Linked DNA regions of Homo sapiens: all the other regions are linked to region 2. The links are contacts of gene promoters, found by promoter capture Hi-C in blood cells and fetal thymus (Javierre and others, 2016). All regions are on one chromosome and are shown on one strand. Each heading gives the region's core, a stretch centred on a gene start or on the middle of the fragment in contact. The rest is flanking DNA. Distances are from core to core; before and after follow the strand shown. Region 1 overlaps VWF (von Willebrand factor). Region 2 holds the start of GAPDH (glyceraldehyde-3-phosphate dehydrogenase). Region 3 has its middle 2.6 kb from the start of C1S.

The links. The method cuts DNA at HindIII sites, captures the fragments that hold promoters and counts their contacts. A CHiCAGO score of 5 or more calls a contact.
Region 1: a fragment that was not itself captured here is called in contact with the fragment with the promoter of GAPDH in region 2 in 1 of 17 cell types (naive CD8 T cells); the score reaches 5.0 in naive CD8 T cells.
Region 3: a fragment that was not itself captured here is called in contact with the fragment with the promoter of GAPDH in region 2 in 1 of 17 cell types (activated CD4 T cells); the score reaches 5.2 in activated CD4 T cells.

What each region holds. Positions count from the first base shown.
Region 1 is chr12:5,983,575-5,988,223 of GRCh38, forward strand. VWF (von Willebrand factor) reads right to left here. Exons shown (of 52, transcript NM_000552.5): 39 at 1,989-2,091; 40 at 1,471-1,545. Among named protein-coding and RNA genes, the nearest start is that of ANO2, 41 kb to the left of the region's middle. The HindIII fragment of the contact is 7,184 bases long and covers 1-4,649 here.
Region 2 is chr12:6,531,951-6,536,388 of GRCh38, forward strand. GAPDH (glyceraldehyde-3-phosphate dehydrogenase) reads left to right here and starts at 2,567. Exons shown (of 9, transcript NM_002046.7): 1 at 2,567-2,619; 2 at 2,860-2,911. The coding sequence starts at 2,883. GAPDH-DT (GAPDH divergent transcript) reads right to left here and starts at 2,457. Exons shown (of 2, transcript XR_002957397.2): 1 at 1,514-2,457; 2 at 1-1,193. NCAPD2 (non-SMC condensin I complex subunit D2) reads left to right here. Exons shown (of 32, transcript NM_014865.4): 32 at 1-5. RefSeq lists enhancers at 709-838, 799-1,572, 1,573-2,346, 2,347-3,120 and silencers at 1,749-1,998, 2,719-2,858. The HindIII fragment of the contact is 4,237 bases long and covers 20-4,256 here.
Region 3 is chr12:7,055,832-7,060,472 of GRCh38, forward strand. No RefSeq gene overlaps it. Among named protein-coding and RNA genes, the nearest start is that of C1S, 2.6 kb to the right of the region's middle. RefSeq lists an enhancer at 4,474-4,641. The HindIII fragment of the contact is 386 bases long and covers 1,850-2,235 here.

The DNA of each region.
Region 1 (4,649 bases), core at 207-2,706, 550 kb before region 2:
CAGCTTAGAGAGAGATAGGATAGATGATAAAACATAGGGTAGATAGACAGATAGATATAGAATAGATGATAGATACATATGTTAGACAGAGATAGGATAGATGATAGATACATAGGTTAGATAGAGATAGGATAGATTATAAATAGATACACAGGTTAGATAGATTAGACAGACAGATAGATACATACATAGATATAGGATAGATAACTAGATACAATAGAGATAGATAGATAGATAGATAGATGATAGAGGATAGATGATAAATAGATATATAGCTTAGATAGAGATAGGATAGATGATAGATACATAGGATAGATAGAGACAGGATAGATGATAAATAGATACATAGGTTAGATAGAGATAGGACAGATGATAAATACATAGGATGGATGGATAGATGGATAGATAGATAGATAGATAGATAGATAGATAGATAGATAGATAGACAGACAGACAGACAGACAGATAGATCAATCCAAGTCACATACTGATTATTCTTATCATCCACTAGGGCTTTCACATCTCAGCCAAGTCAACTTGGATCCTCTAGACCTGTTTCTTCTTCTGGAAGGTGGGAACTCTACCTTATAGGATCAGTCTGAGGAGTTCACAAAATAATAAGGGCAAAGTGCCCGGCACATTGTAGGAGACTAGTAATGTCTATAAAATGAGGGGCTTGAAGTAAATGATCCCTCTAGTTCTCTCTACTGCTAACATTCTAAGACCTCCTTTACATTAATTGTTCTCAAGCCACATCTCCCTCCCCTACAGGACTTCTATTTATTTCTGATCAATTTCATGAGTACAAATAAGTTTCTCCGATTATATGATTTTCTTTTAGTTCCTTGGACTGTCCCCTGATCTATCTGCTCTCCCTTCAATATCTGCATCACTGCAAATTGTACAAGCCTGTGCTTTAGGTCTTCATCTGTACAAGCAATAAACACACTGGACAGGACTGGGACAAAGGCACTAATGATTTCCTGCCATGCTAACCGTAATTCCATCAGCTCTGAATTCACGGACTTATACCATTATTCAGCCCACTATTCACAGAGCAGCCTGCAAGGCTAGCATGAAAACCTCTAGCAAACAACCTGCTGAACTCAAGGTGCCCAGTGTGTGGTCTTCTCTATATCTAGCAGCCTCAAAATCTTATTGAAAATGAAAATGGGTTGCTTTGGCATGACCTTTTCTTCAGTATATCTCCATAGTCCCCAGTAATCACCCCATTCTTGTATTAATCCTGTCAAACCTGTGTTTAGTAATTTACAGTAGATTCTTCTAGGAAGCAAATCCTATTCTCCAGAGGTAACCCTTTCCACTTTTTTGGAGTATCCAGTCGGTCCTTACCCACCTCCTTTCACACACCCTGTGCCTGAGAACAGAGACACCTTTCAGCACCTTCAACGTGGTGCCCCCTGGGGCTAGGGTTGGGCCCTGGAGACATCCCCCTGGTGGGACACATACCACACTCATACTCGGGGCAGCACTGGTCTGCATTCTGGCGGAGGCGGGCTACTTCACACAGGCCACACGTGGGAGCTAGAGGAGAGGAACGGCCACAAAAGTCAGAGAAATTAGTGGTGGGACAGCCTCAGAGGGATTTGAAATGTTCTTGCTCACTGAAAACTAGTAGGAGTTCTGTACGGTCATCCCACAAGGATCCAGGCCACGGGACCTCTGACAGATGAGTGTCCCCATGTTCCTGTTGACACCCTCACATTTACCCTCCAGGGGACTCTTAAGTCTGACCGTTGCTGGGGACCAGAGGCGAGGGTTAATCTGAGAATGTCGACCCCAGGTGCAGAATGGGGCTCCCAGGCCCAGTGATGGGAAATGCAGGCTGGGCAAGGAAGCCCACCCACTCTAGGACTCTAGGTGCCAGTGTTTGAGTCTGCTCTGCCAGAGGTGAAGATGGGTGGCTGGGGGGCCTTGCAGGGGCCCTTGTTCCTCCATGAAGGCACCAGGGAGGGGAGGACTCTCACCTTTGGCCGTGGGGCAGGGCTGCGTTGTGCAGTTGACCTTCCGCCCGCTGAGGCATGTGCAGATCTGACAGGGCTGGTGGTCCGGGACCCAGGCTTCCAGGAACTGAGGGCAAAGCGAGGTTCAGAAAGGGCACAGGACATTCTAGGTACGAAGCCCAGAATTCACAGAGGTCAGCTCTCCCTGCCTCCGGCAAGGGCCAGTCCCTGACCCAGCCCTCTGACAGAGCCTCACAGGCAAACAAAAGCAGGCTGAAAGGAGGTTGTGAGGTTCTAATGGCTTTCAGAAAGGTGGTTGCCACATTGCTTTGTAAACTAACATGCGGAAATTTTCACTACAGCCTTCTCTGTTGGCAGTGCTAAAACCAAGCAAAGAAAGAAAAATGAGAGTTCTTGGATCGCACTGCTAGTCATTTCTCAAGCCAAAGGAGAAATTGGGTTGTTGCTTGGGGAAAAAAATCCATTTATTTCTGAAATTGACTTCAGACAATAGGGTAGGAAGAGCGGTGGGGAGGACAGCAAAACTCTTGAAAGCATCACATTCTTGATGCCCGCAGTGACTTTAGAGGCCTGAGTGCAGTTCTCTGATTTTTCAAATGGGAGACGGCCCAGGGCAGAGAGCAGCCTTCTCGAAGGTACACACAGCCCCACAGCACAAGGCTTTGAAGTCAGGAACTCCTGAACTCTAACAAAGGCTGCATTCCGCTGTGCCTCAGTTTCCTCACCTGTAAAATGAGCGTACTCAAGCCTGCCTTGCAGGACTGTTGTAAGGAGTGAGAAACTGTGATTAGCACAGGGTACACAGCAAAGAGCTCCACTAATAAGAAGCAGAGCCAGGACTCAGTCTCCCTCTGGATTCAGCCATAAAGTTAAATTTAAACTTAAAATTAAATTCAAGTGAAATTGCCCCTGAAGAAACACATTCTTATCCAGTAGCTCAAAGGCCTCTAAGAAGTTCCCAGGTCAAGAAGGTCTTACTTATTACTTCCACAGTCAGCAATCAGTCAGCTAAGAAGGAAGATCAAATACCCACAAGTAAGGCCCCCTTCCCCCAAAGTGCCCTGCCCTCCTTCAGGATTAACCCCTCTGGTCCTGCCCTTGACACCTTTCACTCACTCAATAAATGATAGCAGCTAACATTCAGATGCCACCTGCTGTGTGCCACTGTGTTGAGGACTTTATTTAAATCACTCATGTAATCCTCACTGCAGTCCTACGGTGAGGATATGTTTTACCACTGCCCTCACTTTTCCAATGAGAAAGCTAAGGCACCTGCTAGGTTCCCACAGGCACAGCGACAGAGTGAGGATTTGAATCCAAATCCATGGTTTGTTTCTTTGTTATTTTATGTTTTGGTTTTTGTTTGTTTGTTTGTTTGTTTGTTTTGAGACAGAGTCGCACTCTCTCGCCTAGACTGCAGTGCAGTGGCATGATCTCGGCTCATTGCAACCTCTGCCTCCCGAGTTTAAGTGATTCTCCTGCCTCAGCCTCCCAAATAGTTGGGACTATAGGCATGTGCCACCATACCCAGCTAATTTTTGTATTTTAGTAGAGACAGGATTTCACCATGTTGGCCAGGCTGGGTCTCGAATTCCTGACCTCAAGTGATCCACCTGCCTCAGCCTCCCAAAGTGCTGGGATTACAGGTGTGAGCCACTATGCCCGGCCCAAATCCATGGTTTTAAACCACCATGCTCTGCTGCCTCCCACAGGTAACTAATAATAAATATGTTCAAGATATTTTTCTAAGAGTTTTACATTTATGTACTTTATTTTCCTAATAATAACACTACCAGATAAGTAGTAGTATCTATATTTACAAATAATGAAACTGAGACACCAAGAAGTTAAGAAATTTGACCAAGTGGCACATCCAGGCTTCGAACTTAGCATTCTGGCCCCAGACACCACAGGCCTAGCCTCTTGCAGCACAACTGCTTCTCATCAACAGACACAGTGCCCATCGTGGGCAGGTCTGAACACACCATCCTAGCCCTCGAATGGCTGACAGTCAGGTTGAGGAAATAAGACTCATTCGTGAAAATCTGAATGAGAAAAATAAATTGTGATACACACACACCGTGGAATACCACCTAGCAATGAGAAGGAGAAAACTATCAAAACAGACAGCATCATGGATGAATCCCAAAAGCGTTATGCTGGGTGAAGGAAGCCAGGCAGAAAAGAAGTGCGTAGGCATGATTCCATTTATGTGAAATTCCAGAAAATGTAAACGAATCTATAGTGACAGAAAGCAGACCAGTAGTTGTCTAGGGTTGAGGGATATATTTAAAAGGGCATAAGCTAACCTTTGGGGGATGGAAATTCATTATCTTGGTTATGTCAATGGTTTTATAGGTGTGTACATATGTCAAAACCTATCAAATTGTACACTTTAAATATGTGCTGTTTGTGGCATGTAAATTATATCTCAATAAAGCTATTTGTAAAAATAAAAAATAAAAGAGCAGTAAGAGTGCAAAAGGAGAGTCCACTAAGATTGGGCACTCCAGAGAGTCTCACAAGGGTGCACCTATGAAGCACAGGAAGACTTGGGCAAAGGGGAAAGGAGGAGGAATTCCAGGTGGGAAACAGCTAACAAAGGCACAGACGAAGGAACACTCCCGCAGTGCCCGGCATCACAGGTGAGGCAGGTGGCTGAAG
Region 2 (4,438 bases), core at 1,317-3,816:
TTTTAGACATTTTTTCCTAAGCTTGTCTTTGTTTCATCTTTCACATTAGCCCAGTTTCATGCAGCAGAGAGAGGGTTATCAGTGCAGAGAGAGATGAGTGAGCCCAGAGTCCTAGGGCCTGTCCCGGGATGGCAGATGAGCTTCCTGCCCCGTCACTGCCACCTTTCCCCTCTCAACCTCTGGACCCTGCACAGTGACCAGACAGCCTCTCTGGGGAGAATTATGCAGTGCCTAGGCTCCAGATCAGTGCTTCTGAACCGGGGGCAATTTTGTCTGCCAGAGGACATCTGACAACACCTGGGGCCTGTTTTGTTGTCATAGCCTATAGGGGAAGAATGCTACCAGCATTTGTGGGAAGAGGCCAGGGATGTGGCTCAACATCCTGCAGTGCACAGGATGGCCCCTCAACAAAGAATCACACGGCCCACAATGTCAATAGCGTCACAGTTGAGAAAACCTGCTCTAGACCAAGGGTTGCTTTCTGCCGTGTGCCTCACCCCACCCCCACTCGTGTTCCCTAATCCCATCTCCAAAGGTTGGCAGCAGACCGGCCCAGGCTCGTGGAAGTTCAGATCATGATCCCCTCCAGCTCTGCAGGAGACAAGACCTGTCTCCCAGCATTCCTCATTGTTCCCGGGTCTGCAGAGGGCGTGAGCTATGCTGCAGGCGGGCTGCCCCCTGAAGCCTGCGCACCCCTCTCCAGCTCCTCAAGTCTTCTCTGCTGAGTCACCTTCGAACCGGAGGCTGTGAGCTGGCTGTCGTGACCACACTGGTGCCTCTGCTGTCATGACAACAGCACACTACGTCAGTAGTGCTCCCTGGGCACTGAGCTCCCTCTTTGCGGGGAGAAGACAGTAATGAAAAATGACAAGCATGAGGCAGAGGGGAAGATCACGCTTGGGTGGTGCAGGAGCATGGAGGTGCTCTTAATGCTCTCAATGAGAAAGGGTTAACGGTCCTGGTTGCAGGAATAGCTGAGTCAGAGGTGGGGCTTCCTCCACTCCCCCACCCCACCCCTTTCACCATTAGGGACCTTCTTGCCTTGCTCTTGCTACTCTGCTCTGGGTGGTCATTGTGAAAAGCCCGCACCAACCATGCCAGTGGCAGCCAGACGAGGACACAGCCTGGCTCTGGGTCCCAGCAGGAAAGGCAATCCCAGAAAGGCAGGGTCAGGGACTGGAGTCCTGTGGGTGCTTTTTAAGCAAAGATTATCACCAGGCAGGCTAAACTTAGCAACCGGCTTTTAGCTAGAAGGGCAGGGGGCTGGTGTCAGGTTATGCTGGGCCAGCAAAGAGGCCCGGGATCCCCCTCCCATGCACCTGCTGATGGGCCAAGGCCACCCCACCCCACCCCCTTCCTTACAAGTGTTCAGCACCCTCCCATCCCACACTCACAAACCTGGCCCTCTGCCCTCCTACCAGAAGAATGGATCCCCTGTGGGAGGGGGCAGGGGACCTGTTCCCACCGTGTGCCCAAGACCTCTTTTCCCACTTTTTCCCTCTTCTTGACTCACCCTGCCCTCAATATCCCCCGGCGCAGCCAGTGAAAGGGAGTCCCTGGCTCCTGGCTCGCCTGCACGTCCCAGGGCGGGGAGGGACTTCCGCCCTCACGTCCCGCTCTTCGCCCCAGGCTGGATGGAATGAAAGGCACACTGTCTCTCTCCCTAGGCAGCACAGCCCACAGGTTTCCAGGAGTGCCTTTGTGGGAGGCCTCTGGGCCCCCACCAGCCATCCTGTCCTCCGCCTGGGGCCCCAGCCCGGAGAGAGCCGCTGGTGCACACAGGGCCGGGATTGTCTGCCCTAATTATCAGGTCCAGGCTACAGGGCTGCAGGACATCGTGACCTTCCGTGCAGAAACCTCCCCCTCCCCCTCAAGCCGCCTCCCGAGCCTCCTTCCTCTCCAGGCCCCCAGTGCCCAGTGCCCAGTGCCCAGCCCAGGCCTCGGTCCCAGAGATGCCAGGAGCCAGGAGATGGGGAGGGGGAAGTGGGGGCTGGGAAGGAACCACGGGCCCCCGCCCGAGGCCCATGGGCCCCTCCTAGGCCTTTGCCTGAGCAGTCCGGTGTCACTACCGCAGAGCCTCGAGGAGAAGTTCCCCAACTTTCCCGCCTCTCAGCCTTTGAAAGAAAGAAAGGGGAGGGGGCAGGCCGCGTGCAGCCGCGAGCGGTGCTGGGCTCCGGCTCCAATTCCCCATCTCAGTCGTTCCCAAAGTCCTCCTGTTTCATCCAAGCGTGTAAGGGTCCCCGTCCTTGACTCCCTAGTGTCCTGCTGCCCACAGTCCAGTCCTGGGAACCAGCACCGATCACCTCCCATCGGGCCAATCTCAGTCCCTTCCCCCCTACGTCGGGGCCCACACGCTCGGTGCGTGCCCAGTTGAACCAGGCGGCTGCGGAAAAAAAAAAGCGGGGAGAAAGTAGGGCCCGGCTACTAGCGGTTTTACGGGCGCACGTAGCTCAGGCCTCAAGACCTTGGGCTGGGACTGGCTGAGCCTGGCGGGAGGCGGGGTCCGAGTCACCGCCTGCCGCCGCGCCCCCGGTTTCTATAAATTGAGCCCGCAGCCTCCCGCTTCGCTCTCTGCTCCTCCTGTTCGACAGTCAGCCGCATCTTCTTTTGCGTCGCCAGGTGAAGACGGGCGGAGAGAAACCCGGGAGGCTAGGGACGGCCTGAAGGCGGCAGGGGCGGGCGCAGGCCGGATGTGTTCGCGCCGCTGCGGGGTGGGCCCGGGCGGCCTCCGCATTGCAGGGGCGGGCGGAGGACGTGATGCGGCGCGGGCTGGGCATGGAGGCCTGGTGGGGGAGGGGAGGGGAGGCGTGTGTGTCGGCCGGGGCCACTAGGCGCTCACTGTTCTCTCCCTCCGCGCAGCCGAGCCACATCGCTCAGACACCATGGGGAAGGTGAAGGTCGGAGTCAACGGGTGAGTTCGCGGGTGGCTGGGGGGCCCTGGGCTGCGACCGCCCCCGAACCGCGTCTACGAGCCTTGCGGGCTCCGGGTCTTTGCAGTCGTATGGGGGCAGGGTAGCTGTTCCCCGCAAGGAGAGCTCAAGGTCAGCGCTCGGACCTGGCGGAGCCCCGCACCCAGGCTGTGGCGCCCTGTGCAGCTCCGCCCTTGCGGCGCCATCTGCCCGGAGCCTCCTTCCCCTAGTCCCCAGAAACAGGAGGTCCCTACTCCCGCCCGAGATCCCGACCCGGACCCCTAGGTGGGGGACGCTTTCTTTCCTTTCGCGCTCTGCGGGGTCACGTGTCGCAGAGGAGCCCCTCCCCCACGGCCTCCGGCACCGCAGGCCCCGGGATGCTAGTGCGCAGCGGGTGCATCCCTGTCCGGATGCTGCGCCTGCGGTAGAGCGGCCGCCATGTTGCAACCGGGAAGGAAATGAATGGGCAGCCGTTAGGAAAGCCTGCCGGTGACTAACCCTGCGCTCCTGCCTCGATGGGTGGAGTCGCGTGTGGCGGGGAAGTCAGGTGGAGCGAGGCTAGCTGGCCCGATTTCTCCTCCGGGTGATGCTTTTCCTAGATTATTCTCTGGTAAATCAAAGAAGTGGGTTTATGGAGGTCCTCTTGTGTCCCCTCCCCGCAGAGGTGTGGTGGCTGTGGCATGGTGCCAAGCCGGGAGAAGCTGAGTCATGGGTAGTTGGAAAAGGACATTTCCACCGCAAAATGGCCCCTCTGGTGGTGGCCCCTTCCTGCAGCGCCGGCTCACCTCACGGCCCCGCCCTTCCCCTGCCAGCCTAGCGTTGACCCGACCCCAAAGGCCAGGCTGTAAATGTCACCGGGAGGATTGGGTGTCTGGGCGCCTCGGGGAACCTGCCCTTCTCCCCATTCCGTCTTCCGGAAACCAGATCTCCCACCGCACCCTGGTCTGAGGTTAAATATAGCTGCTGACCTTTCTGTAGCTGGGGGCCTGGGCTGGGGCTCTCTCCCATCCCTTCTCCCCACACACATGCACTTACCTGTGCTCCCACTCCTGATTTCTGGAAAAGAGCTAGGAAGGACAGGCAACTTGGCAAATCAAAGCCCTGGGACTAGGGGGTTAAAATACAGCTTCCCCTCTTCCCACCCGCCCCAGTCTCTGTCCCTTTTGTAGGAGGGACTTAGAGAAGGGGTGGGCTTGCCCTGTCCAGTTAATTTCTGACCTTTACTCCTGCCCTTTGAGTTTGATGATGCTGAGTGTACAAGCGTTTTCTCCCTAAAGGGTGCAGCTGAGCTAGGCAGCAGCAAGCATTCCTGGGGTGGCATAGTGGGGTGGTGAATACCATGTACAAAGCTTGTGCCCAGACTGTGGGTGGCAGTGCCCCACATGGCCGCTTCTCCTGGAAGGGCTTCGTATGACTGGGGGTGTTGGGCAGCCCTGGAGCCTTCAGTTGCAGCCATGCCTTAAGCCAGGCCAGCCTGGCAGGGAAGCTCAAGGGAGATAAAATTCAACCTCTTGGGCCCTCCTGGGGGT
Region 3 (4,641 bases), core at 793-3,292, 520 kb after region 2:
AATGGTGTTTAAGTTCACAGGACATAGACTTTTTTTTTTGACAGGGTCTCACTCTATTGCCCAGGCTGGAGTGCAGTGGTGTGATCACAGCTCATTGCAGCCTTGACCTCCAGGGCTCAAGTGATCCTCCCACCTCAGCCTCCTGAGTAGCTGGGACTACAGACATGCTCTAGCATGCCTGGCATTCTTTCTTTTTTTTGTGGAGATAGGGTCTCACCATGTTGCCCAGGCTGATCTCAAACTCCTGAACTCAAGCAACCCTCCTGCTTTGGCCTCCTAAAGTATTGGTATTACAGGTGTGAGCCACCACACCTGGCCCACAGGACATGGATTCTGAACAACTGGCATAAATCGACTGGCCTCAAGGTAAGGTTTTAAACTAAGCTTAAGCTTTTCTGTTGCCCTCAGATACCACTGAATTTCTTCTTCAGATTTTGGTGACATTAAGTGGTGGTTTCTGGAAATACAATTTTAATTTTGCTTGGGATGATTGTCTTGGGGTCTGGGGATAGCTCATTTTCTAAATTTTGTGGTTGTGGGGCTGGTGTTGCAATATTCTTGTGTCTCATTAACTTTCTGGAATTTTAAAAACAGACTCATGGAAGGTTTGCCTCAGAACTCAGTCTTTGAAGCCTTGGAGGAACTAACCTGTTCCAGCCCAGGCCGCAGCTTCGGAAGGGACCACAGCTCTGCCCAGGGATTGGAAACCCACTAGCTGGGATTAAACAGAACACAAATTGGAACTGATAGTTTTGTGACTTTAACATAGACACTTTGGGCTTCAATTACTTTTGACTTTAATGTCATAGTTTCAGTTTGCAATGGGATTTGAACTTTAATTTTGGAGTTTGATTAATGGGAGGGTTATTTGTTGTTCAAATTTGAAAATGGGAGGGTTATTTGTTGTTCAAAACCTTTATTGTTGGCAATCCCTTGTTGGAGCTTCTTAATACCATCATTTAATCTCATTGTGGATCTCCGATAGCTACTTAGATAACATGGCTGCATGAAATTTTATTTTATTTATTTTTGAGACAGGGTCTCACTCTGTTGCCCAGGCTGGAGTGCAGTGGTGTGATCATAGCTCATTGCAGCCTCAAAATCCTGGGCTCAAGTTATCCTCCTCCCTTGGCCTCCTGAGTAGCTGGGACTACAAGTGCGTGCCACTATGCCTGACTAATTTTTTGACTTTTTGTAGAGATGAAATCTTGCTATGTTCCCCAGGCTGGTCTTGAACTCCTGGCATCAAGTGATCCTCTCTTTTTGGTCTACCAAAGTGCTGGGATTACAGCACTTTGGCATGAGCCACTATGCCTGACCAATGAAATTTGAGGTGGGAAACGGAGCACCCAGGCTGAAGTGCAATGCTGTGGTCATAGCTCACTGCAGGCTTGAACTCCTGGGCTCAAGCAATCCTCCTGCCTCTCAGCCTCCTGAGTAGCTGGGACCACAGGATGGCTAATTTTTAAACTTTTTTGTAGAGATGAGGTCTCCCTATGTTGCCTAGGCTGGTCTTGAACTCCCAGCCTCAAGCGATCCTCCCGCCTCAGCCTTCTGAGTTGCTGGGATTACAGGTGTGAGCCACTGCTCCTGGCAATGTATTTCAATTTCGTGGCAAAATTGCAGAAATGAACATAAAACACAGGTGAGGATAGGAGAGTCTAACTTTTCTGGCAAGATCGGGCAGTGTTGAGCTCCAAGGAAAAGGAGAAGGAACCCTGGACACATTGATAAGGCGTCCTCTTTTCCTTGGTATTAACTGAAGCATGCTCTTGATGGGGAGGAAGCTGCTGCTACTGCTGCCGTGTTTGGTGTTTGGAGAAGTTAATATGGTTTGTTATTTGTTAAAAGCTTACTGAGTACCAGGTATATGCTGAATGCTTAGCATACGTTATTTTGTTTAATCTTGGCCACAATGGGCCCTGACAGTGATAGCTGTGTCTGAAGTAGGTGCTATTATTCCCATTTTACACCTGATAAAGCTGGAGCTCAGAGAGGCATAGTAACTTTTTCAAGGTCACACGGCTAAAATGAAAGGTAATGAATGGTTTGAATTCACTTTGGCACATTCAATCAACCAATCCTCAGATACTCACTGAGCGTGTTGTATCAGCCATTATTTTTAGTTGCAAGCAGTAGAAACCAACTCTGGCTGAGTTTAGCAGAAGATGAATTTATTAAAGGGACCCTGGATTGCTCATGGAAATTCCAGGGGAGCTACAGAGCCATTGTGGAAGCTTCCCAGCAGGGACAATGGTCAGAACCTGGCTGCCGCTGCTGCCACTTCTTTGACCATGGCCTGGATGCTTCGGCTTGCAATGCTTACCCACTGGGGCTGGATGCTGGGTGCTGCTGAGAACTCTACCTCCTCTGTGATCTTGCTGTGGCCACCACTGTCCCTACAGGCTCTAGGGTCCCTGCTTCCTGGCATTACTGGCTCTGGATTGAAAGCCTGGGCCTCTGATGAATGGAACGTGTGTGCATGTGAAACTGCCTTTGCAAAGATGATGACAGTGAGGGAAGTCTAGCATGGGTGACTCCATCTTGCCTCTACCCTCACAGGCTGGCTGTCCTCACTCATTCCTGGGCATAGGCCAAGCTAACCATGGGAGGAATTTAGTTTACAGTTTAACTCTGAAGCAAAGATGATATTAGTCCCTCCCTAAAATGAACCCCCTCCTAGCTCAGGGACCTGCCTTTGTAAAACTAATGAAAGGCCACAAGATTAGGATTATGGGAGGGGCTTGAATTTTGCTAAGATGTGGGTGTAGCTAACCGATGACCAGCCATTGACCCCTAGCTTGCCTTTCTATAATCCTTTGCTGCTCAGGAGTCATGCGGCCAGAGGTCACAAGATCTGTGACTTCCCCAATTGCTCCTATAGATAACATCACTATTGTAAAACCAAATATTGGTCTTCTGAGATATTTTTCAGACTTTTGCATTCTGAAATGATTCATGACTCAACTGGTCCTGTGACCCCCACCCAGAGGTGGACTTAGTGCACAAGGTCTGTTTTCTACACTCCTATGATTTTATCCCCAACGAATCAGTAGCACCCATTCTCTGCTCTTACCGCCCACCAAATTCTCCTTAAGAACCCTAGCCTCTGAGTTCTTGTGGGGACTGATTTGAGAAATAAACTCCCATCCTTTCACTTGGCTAGCTCTGTGTTGTTAAACTCTTTCTCTACTGCAATACCATGGTCTCAGTGAATTGGTTTTGTCTACGCAGCAGGCAGGAAGAACCCTTCGGGTGATTACAAATTAGCCTGCTCCAGAGCTGCTGGAGGTGGGGGTGACACACTTCTTGTGCCTGTGTCTTCTTTCTTGGGAGGTCGGCTCTGTTCCCAAGACTGATATCATGGGGAACTCCTCTAATGTGGCAAAGCAGTTTGAATGCTGGGCAGCCAGGGGAGTCACAGATGGTTGCATACACATCTGTGTTCTGCATGACACTGCTAGACATGGCGGACAATACCAAGACGGATCAGACCCAGCACCTGTCTTCCGAGACCTTACGGGCTCATGATTCTCTTCCTTTTAACATGCACATTTATTAGGTACCATAGTGTGCAAAGCTTGTTCACTCGAATTATTTCATTAGGTCCATCTGATAGTCATGTAGGGTAGGCAGAACTGATAGGATTTCTGTTTTATATTTGAAGAAACTAGGTCTGTCAATAGTGAGCCAGGTTTAAAAAAAAAAAGAAACTAGGAAGTTAGGTGATGAGCCTAAGACATCACCACTGGTGAGGAGCAGAGCTGGGACATGAGCCTATCTTCTGACTCCAGGCCCAGTGCTAAGCCAACTAAAGGGGCATAAAGGGGAGCTGAGATCAGGGAAGGCTCTGTGGAGTGGCACTGCCCCTCAGTCCCTTGTCTGCAATTCTAAAATCCAAAGGACTCTGAAAACAAAGTCTCTGTCTTTTTTTTGTAATGGGATCTCATTCTGTTGCCCAGGCTGGAGTGCAGTGGTGCCCTCTGCAGCCTCGACCTCCCTGGCACAAGTGATCCTCTTGCCTCAGCCTCCTGAGTAGCTGGGACTACAGGCGTGTGTCACAATACCTGGCTATTGTTTTTTGTTTGTTTGTTTTCAAGTTTGGGACTAAAACTCAATTTGGCAGCAAAACCTGACCCGAACTGATGTGATTTGTAATCTTTAGTTATCCATTTACCGTAAGATCAATGTGTTTAGCTGCAGAAATCTTAATGTTTGTTAATAGGGGGTTATCCTGGTCCATAAAGGGAGGGAGAGGAGGAGGTGTTACCTAATATTGGGTCCATGGACTACATAGCCTAAAAAAATCTATAAAATTTCAAAACACACCTGGCTTCAAGGGTTATGGATAAGGGAGTCTGGGTTGGATCTGAAAGGGGGCTTGGTTGTGGGGTAGAATTTCGATGTTTGGAAGGGATGTGGAGGGATGTTATGAAGAGGAAGCCTCACGCCATACCACCTTGGGTCTTGGTGTTAAGTCATTATCAACCATTACATTTGCTTTAAAGCAGAGATGACTTACATTTCTGATAACTACTTTCCCTTAATTCATGATTCACACACATTTGGAGGGCTGGACTTTCTGGGTTTGGTTATTTCCCCTGGTACCAATCCCCGCCTTTTCCCAGAAATCACTTGACT